Regions from separate parts of the Homo sapiens genome. Here region 1 is linked to region 2. Evidence: promoter capture Hi-C in 16 types of primary human blood cells and fetal thymus (Javierre and others, 2016). All regions are on one chromosome and are shown on one strand. The core of a region is centred on a gene start or on the middle of the fragment in contact, and the rest is flanking DNA. Distances in the headings are between cores, read along the strand shown. Region 1 overlaps ZNF655 (zinc finger protein 655). Region 2 holds the start of ZKSCAN1 (zinc finger with KRAB and SCAN domains 1).

Evidence for each region. The method cuts DNA at HindIII sites, captures the fragments that hold promoters and counts their contacts. A CHiCAGO score of 5 or more calls a contact.
Region 1: a contact is called between a fragment that was not itself captured here and the fragment with the promoter of ZKSCAN1 in region 2, in 3 of 17 cell types (erythroblasts, M1 macrophages and M2 macrophages). The highest score is 6.9, in erythroblasts.

Annotation. Positions count from the first base shown.
Region 1 is chr7:99,561,579-99,565,661 of GRCh38, forward strand. All of the region lies in intron 2 of ZNF655 (zinc finger protein 655), which reads left to right. Among named protein-coding and RNA genes, the nearest start is that of ZNF655, 5.0 kb to the left of the region's middle. The HindIII fragment of the contact is 3,376 bases long and covers 86-3,461 here.
Region 2 is chr7:100,013,131-100,016,963 of GRCh38, forward strand. ZKSCAN1 (zinc finger with KRAB and SCAN domains 1) reads left to right here and starts at 2,466. Exons shown (of 6, transcript NM_003439.4): 1 at 2,466-2,596. RefSeq lists a silencer at 2,552-2,721. The HindIII fragment of the contact is 19,683 bases long and covers 1-3,833 here.

The sequences.
Region 1 (4,083 bases), core at 524-3,023, 450 kb before region 2:
GCTTTGCTTTGCCCATCTGCAAAACAGGTATAGTCTTACTCTTCTGTAAGAGGACTGTCATGTGATGAAGATAAAGTGAAATACAAGCTTTCCTAAGAAAATCCTGTATCACAGGTCAAAACACGCATAAGGCATGCAAGTACTGAGACGAAGCAGAGTAGACACACCCAATACCTGAAAAATGTTCATTGGTTTTACTAGAGTATTGAGGAGGGTCCTGCTGACACCCCTTGGGCTGGAGAGGCCTCCTCTGAAAGGGAGCCCTGGGAAAGGGCTGCTCTCACTCTTCACTCCTTTCTCCTCCCTCAGCTCCACCTGTTCCTCAGGTGCCTGCTCTTCCCCGTGAGGGAAGCCCAGGAGACCAGGCAGCTGCGCTCTTGACAGCCAGGTACCAGGTGAGCTGAGGAACCCTCTGCTTTTCCTCAGGGACTATTGCTACTGATGGAGTGTGGCCTCTCTCTCATCCCATCTGTAGACCTTGCCTGGAATTTTTTTCAATAGCAGACTCCAGTTTGGGAATTGATCCTCTTCGGAGACCTGGACTTCACATAAACCAACTTCCCATCTCCCCAGTGCCATGAGCAAACTCTGTTTTCTCTTTGTCCATGGTTGTGTGATGGGTGCTTATTAGATGTTTAAGGGTTATGGGCTTTATTCCGTAGGTTCTAATCTGTTCTCCCTCCTCCTCAACGTAAGTACACAGTGGATACCCTCTCTATGATCTTCATTCTCTGGCCATGGTGCTACAGTGTTCTCATTCCTCAGAGCAGCCAGGATGTGTTATTTCAGGAGTTTGTGACATTCGAGGATGTGGCTGTGCACCTTACTCGAGAGGAATGGGGATACCTGGACCCTGTTCAGAGGGACCTCTACAGAGAAGTGATGTTAGAGAATTATGGGAACGTGGTCTCACTGGGTAAGGACTTCCTTATTATTCGGTTTATCTATTTGAATTTCTTTACTTTCTTGTTTCTTCCTAAGTATAAGGTCTCTGAGAAGGTCTGTAGAGTGTGGCTTAGATTCCAGGACTTAGAACCTCTGAATCCTTATCTTTCACATCGTCTTCTCCGGGAGGGGTAATTAACGTTTGTTTGGGGGTGCCAAGAAGAGACATTCTCCTCCTTATCCCCAGTTCATGTTTATGGCCATTGTGGGGCATCTTTTCCCTTTTAGCAAAGGGAAACTTTCTTGTGCTTTGCTTGATTTCTCACCGTTCTTTTCTTTTCCATTTTTGTAGGAGAGACCCCAGGGTGGCCTCCCAACCTCCAACCAGACACTTTCCTCTTTGTTATCTCAGTGTCCCTGTATTAGAGAATTGAAGAATTTCCCATTTTTCTAGGAAAAAGAAATGCCGTTTATTTAAAAAGACAGGCTAAATTCCTTCTTGTTGAGTAGTCCCTCACCCCTTAAGATCCCCAGATGTATCTCCAAGCAGGCAGAACTTGAGATGTCATTTGAAGGCATGACTCACTGTGAGTACATTTCAGTGAGTCACCCAGAATGGTAATCCCACGTAACCACACCCAGGGCAGCAGAAATCTCAGATGTTTACCCCATGCTGAGGTGGGGTCAATGCTTAACTCATGTCTCTCCCTTGTCATTTTGAAAGGTACAGTGGGAAGCTGGGATTAGCCAAGCTGTAGTGCTGCTGGGAAGCATCAGTGGGGTTTGTCGGCAGCTCCCTTGGTGTGAGCATTGTTCCTTTTTCTTTAGTTTATTTTTTATATTATATTATATTTTTTATTTTATTTTATTTTTAGATGGAGTTTCACTCTTGTTGCCCAGGCTGGAGTGCAGTGGTGCAATCTCAACTCACTACAACCTCTGCCTTCCAGGTTCAAGCGATTCTCCTGCCTCAGCCTCCCAAGTAGCTGGGATTACAGGCATGGGCCACCACGCCCGCCTAATTTTGTATTTTTAGTAGAGACGGGGTTTCACCATGCTGGTCAGGCTGATCTCGAACTCTTGACCTCAAGTGATCCACCTTCCTTGGCCTCCCAAAGTGCTGGAATTACAGGCATGAGCCACCGCACCCAGCCTCCTTTTTCTTTAGTTTCTTGCTTGCTTCTGCACTCTTCTTTTTGTGTGTGTAAATACTGAATCATGCATTTTCTTTTCTTTTTTTTTTTTCCGTTGGCTTTGTCTATGCTGGTGGCATCCAGGGCATTGCTTTGTCTCCCTGATTATGCTCAGGATTCAAGGTCTTCTTATTTGTGGGGAGGCAGGCTGCCCACTGGGACGGTTTTTAGTGTGTTTTCCATTCCTGGCTCTTTAATCTTTGTAGGCATACTTCTCCGCCTTCCCACCACCCGGATTCATAGTGTGAATTCCTGCCCGGCCCTGAGTCATACCCAGGCAAGTGCTTTCTCTGGAGAAACACTTGCCGTCCTTACAGCAGGAATCTCCAAGAGATGGCCCAAGTATCGGCTTCCCATCGATATTGCTCGTCCCTGCTCGGAAACTCCTTTTCCACGATTGTGAGATATTAAAATTGACTGATGGAATAGAAGCTCCCCAGGATGCCACCACTGTGTAAAATCGCAGCTCCTCAAATTACCTCTGTTTAATTTCAAATGTTAGGGTCCAAGGAAGCCCTCTGTTGCAACCAGATATGTTTTGAACCCAGTTCATTCAGAAACCATGGTTGGTGGTCATCATCTACTTGTATTGTGAAAAACCAGAAATTCCAAATTCAGCTCTTCAGTTATGGTCTTTTCATATTATTTTAGAATGTGAAACTTATGCTGTGTGCCCCTCCTTTTATGTGGCGAACACAACCTGCCCCGTATGGTGCCTAACTCTCCTGTGAACCCTGGGCTTCCCTCATGTTTAACATTCTGGTTTCCTCCTTCCTTGAAGTCCCTGTGGCCCTCTTCAAGGTCCTACCTTCCTACCCTTTATTCTTTGTGGTTCTGTACAGATTGATGCAATTATATTGCCTTTCCTGATTAAGTGTTCCTTACTCTGTCCTTGATGGAGGGGAGAAGGGAGGGCAAAGAAGTTAAATTTATTTCAGGGCATCAAATTGAATATCTACTTAATAACTTTGTAAACTGTAAAGTGACATACATATAATTGTAAAGTACTGTTAATTTTATCTAATAATTACAGAGTTTCCAACAGTTAACCTGTCTACTTTTTGGAGTAAAGAAACTTTGTAGCAGTTTAATGCAGTCTAATAGCATAGTATGCTATAGACTGAACTTTATCCCATTTCCTCTCTTATCTCTGCACTGCACACTCGACATGCAGTCGACATGCATACACACTTTTACACATACAAGAGACACGCACAGTGCAAGAAAGCCTTCTACTCATCTTGCTTTTGTGATCAAGTTAGCAGCATCTCCTTAGCAGTTATTTTTACAATCCTTGGGAAATCATTTTCATATTTTTGGGTTCAGCAGACTTCATCTGAAAATTAACCCATTTATGCCTAGTGTTCCATTATTGGAACACTAAGCTTGCGGGAATTATTTATGTCCCGCTGCTCAAGGTCATCGCCAAGGTCTGATTTTTAACAAAAATTGCAACCTCCAGCATAACTGGGTTAAGTTTATACATTTATTAATTTAACTTTTTAGGGTTGTAAGACTTTTTTTTTTTTTGAGACGGAGTCTTGCTCTGTTGCCCAGGCTGGAGTGCAGTGGCACCATCTCTGCTCACCGCAAGCTCCACCTCCCGGCTTCATGCCATTCTCCTGCCTCAGCCTCCCAAGTAGCTGGGACTACAGATGCTCGCCACCATGCCTGGCTAATCTTTTCGTATTTTTAGTAGAGATGGGGTTTTGCCATCTTAGCCAGGATGGTCTCGATCTCCTGACCTCGTGATCCGCCTGTCTCGGCCTCCCAAAGTGCTGGGATTACAGGTTGTGAGCCACTGCGCCTGGCCTCCAGATTGTATTTGTCACAGACATTAGAACGTTGGTCCTTTGCTTAAGTGCTTCCACTATGCAGCAGTAAATATACAGAGTACAAATAGCTGAGTAAAGAAGTCGGTAATAAGTAATTTTCGTTACCACATAATTGAAAAAAGAACATACTCCATTGATGATGAATGAACAATTTGCCTCTGGGTCACTAT
Region 2 (3,833 bases), core at 1,216-3,715:
CTTTGAGAGGCTGAGGTGGGTGGATCACTTGAGGCCAGGAGTTCGAGACCAGCATGGCCAACATGGTAAAACCCCATCTCTACTAAAAATACACAAATTAGCCAGGCATGGTGAGTGCACACCTGTAATCCTAGCTACTTGGGAGGCTGAGGCATGAGAATCACTTGAGCCCAGGAGGCGGAGGTTGCAGTGAGCTGAGATCACGCCATTGCACTCCAACATGGCAACTGAGGGAAACTCTCTCAAAAAAAAAGAAAGAAAAGAGGCCAGGTGCAGTGACTCACACCTGTAATCCTAGCACTTTGGGAGGCCGAGGCTGGTGGATCACTTCCTGCCTCTGCCACCCCTGAGACAGCAAGAGCAACCCTTCCTCTTCCTCCTCAGCTTACTCAGTGTGAAGACGATGAGTATGAAGACCTTGATGATGATCTATTTCCACTTACTGAATAGTAAATATATTTTCTCTTCCTTAAAAAACAGTGTTCACATGATATGAATGTAGCAGATACTTCCAGGATACCAGCCTCCTCTTCAATACAACTGCAACTATGGTTTTGAACAGTGTTTAAAATAATATCAATAAATATTTATTTGTATATGAAAACAGGAAAAAGGTAAACTAAAGCCATGGGGATTGTGTTAGGGTGGAGAGATTACCGGTAATTATTTTTCTCCATTTTGCAAATTTCCTTTAATGATACTGTTGTTGCTTCTTTTTTGGATACAGAGTCTAGCTCTGTCCCCAGGCTGGAGAGCAGTGGCACGATCTCGGCTCACTGCAGCCTCCGCCTCTGGAGTTCAAGCGATTCTCCTGCCTCAGCCTCCCAAGTAGCTGGGACTATAGGCGTGTGCCACCACGCCCAGCTAATTTTTGTATTTTTAGTAGAGACGGGGTTTCACCATATGGGCCAGGATGATCTCAATCTCTTGACTTCGTGATCCACCCACCTTGGCCTCCCAAACTGCTGGGATTACAGGCATGAGCCACCGTGCCCGGCCCTTTTTTTCTTTTTTGAGATGGGATCTTGCTCTGTGGCCCAGACTGGGGTGCAATGGCACAATCATAGCTCACTGCAGCCTCAACCTCCTGGGCTCAATCTATCCTTCTACCTCAGCCTCCCAAGCAGCTGGGACCACTGGCACACACTACCCTGCACCCAGCTAATTTTAGTATTTTTTGTAGAGAGAGGGTCTCATTACGTTGCTTAGGCTGGTCTCCAACTCTTGGGCTCAAGAATCCTCCCGTCCCAGCCTCCCGAAGTGCTAAGATTACAGGCTTGAGTCATCGTGTCTGGCCCTGTCATTGCTTTTTAGTTTTCAAACATTTTTTAAAAAGTAAATCTGGCCGGGCACGGTGGCTCACGCCTGTAATTCCAGCACTTTGGGAGGCTGAGGCGGGTGGATCACAAGGTCAGTAGATCGAGACCATCCTGGCCAATATGGTGAAACCCTGTTCTCTACCAAAAATACAAAAATTAACCAGGCATGGTGGTGTGCGCCTGTAGTCCCAGGTACTCAGGAGGCTAAGGCAGGAGAATCGCTTGAACCTGGGAGGTGGAGGTTGCAGTGAGCCAAGATGGTGCCACTGCACTGCAGGCTGGGTGACAGAGCGAGACTCCATCTAAAAAAAAAAAGTAAATCTCTCCAAGCAGTAAGAGTCATGCAACCAAGCTACTGAGTTTCTCCCATGAACTTGTCTCGGAACATAGTGGAAAGTCACAACCATTAAAGCCTGTAGTCCCCCCCACCCTTGCACAACGTGGCCCCCTCTTATGCGTGCCTTACCCTGCAAGGCAAAGATGAAGGCTGTAACTGTGGTAGGTTGTGAAAGCACTTTGAAGGTAAAAGTGTCTGTTGTTACTCTGAAAACTCCTTTTAAACGGCTATAATAGCATATGCCACATGAGCAAAGCACAGAACCTTATAACTATGCTTGCTTGTGGAAAGACATCCCTTGTCCACGGGCCAAGTATTTGAAAATACCACTCCATATAGCTCCAGGGCCCTGAGAGAAGCTACCGTGGCAGCTTTGGGAAACCAGCCACCCTTGGCTTCACTTTGATCTTCCTCAGTCTACATCCTTGTTTCAGTTCCTTTGCCACAGACATACAATTACCAAGTACTATATTGCTTGATAATAACTATAATTACTACAAGGACTGCCTGAGATGAAAAAGACAGGTGAAATCGAACTTTCACATGGACTGGTGTCTGAGCTGGAGAGTCTGTTTGAGTTTGAGTAGGGGAAAGCCTGAAACCCCCCACCACCTGCTCCCGTTAGTCCCTGCATTAACTAGGGGCGGACTGGGACCTGATCCTCCAAGCTGGAGGCTTGAAAACTCAAGGGCAGGCGCCTGGTCCAGCGATTCGGAAACCGAGATGCAAAGTCCTCCCGCGCTCCTAGAGAGGACCCGGAAGCGCGGCGCGGTCCCGGAAGACGAGGTGGTGACACGCTTCCGGCCTTTGTGACTCATTGTGTCTGTGTCGAGGCGTCGGGAGGGCCTAAGTCCGTGTGCGGTGCCCTTCGGCCGGCCTGAGCCCCAGAGTCAGCTCCCCTTTCTCGCCCAGCGCCCCCAGGCCGCTCCCGGGGCTCACGGTGAGACTTGGGGCCGGCCTCTGGGGTGGGAGGGCGGGGCCGCAAGGGTGTGTGCGCGAGGGTGGGCTCCGCAGCTGCGGCCCTGGGACCCCCTCCAGGCGGCCCCGCTGTTGTGCGAAGAGAGTCCATGCCCCTGCCTCCTGGCCGGGCCCGGCCGTAGAAAGCGCCGTTCTTCCTGGGAGACGTCCCCGCCCCACCCCCAGGATCAGGCGGGGAGGGGGCGAGGGTTTCAGTGGCTGAGGGTGCCCGGAGACCCGGGGAGAAGCCGTCTGTGGGCCCCTCTCCCGCAGTGTCGTCATCGCCCTTTGACGTTTCTGCAAACGGGGTCGCGAGCGAACCGACCCCGGTCTTGATTTTTCTGCTCTCCCTTAGTCGCCATTTGCTTTGATTCCGGTGAGGTGTCTTTTTCCCCCCCCGGTTCCTTCGGGACCTCGAGGTGAAATGAGCGGAAGGATGAGAGATGGACACATTTTGAGGTGCCGCATACGTTTCCAGACCTGCCTTTCCTTCTCCCACCCTCATCACTGAGCGGTGATTAAAGAGTATTTGAAGCCTAGTCATAGTGGATAAATAGGTGATTGGGATCTAGTAGAGATTATATACACCCCACTCTTTCAGCTTGATGGAATGCTTTGAAGGCTTTGGAAAAGAGCTGTCCGGGACGTTAGGTGGATTTTTCAATTCTGGATAGTTGCTCTGTTTGACATGGAGTGGGGTGAGAAGTGAAGGGAATTTGTGGAAATTGCACTGTGTCACTAGGAGACTGATTAGCTGAGTGACCTTGGATAAGACGAGACACTCACCAAGTCTTAATTTCGTCATCAATAAAAACTAACTGGATTTTCTCAAAAGGCCCTTCCGACTTCGAAATGATTTGGTCAATGTAATTGAAGAATTAACTACAGTTTAGCTTGACACTCCTCCATCCCTCCCCTCCCTTTCCTGCAGTGCCCCCTGTACACAGTAAGATACTTTCATTATAGAGAGTGGCTGTTCCATGGCCTGGGACCAAAGAAAGCATTTATTGTACGGGCCAGTGCTAGGCGGATTGGAGGCGGTCAATAAATACTTGTTGAATTGAATTGTGGAGAATTCATTGTAACCACATCAGCAAAGCACTGTTAGTATATATGCTGAACAAATGTGGAGAAATCGCTGTTTTACATAGGAAACCATGGTGATTTGCCCCAGAATGTGTATCCAGGTTTGTATCTTCTCTGAATTAACATATAAGATT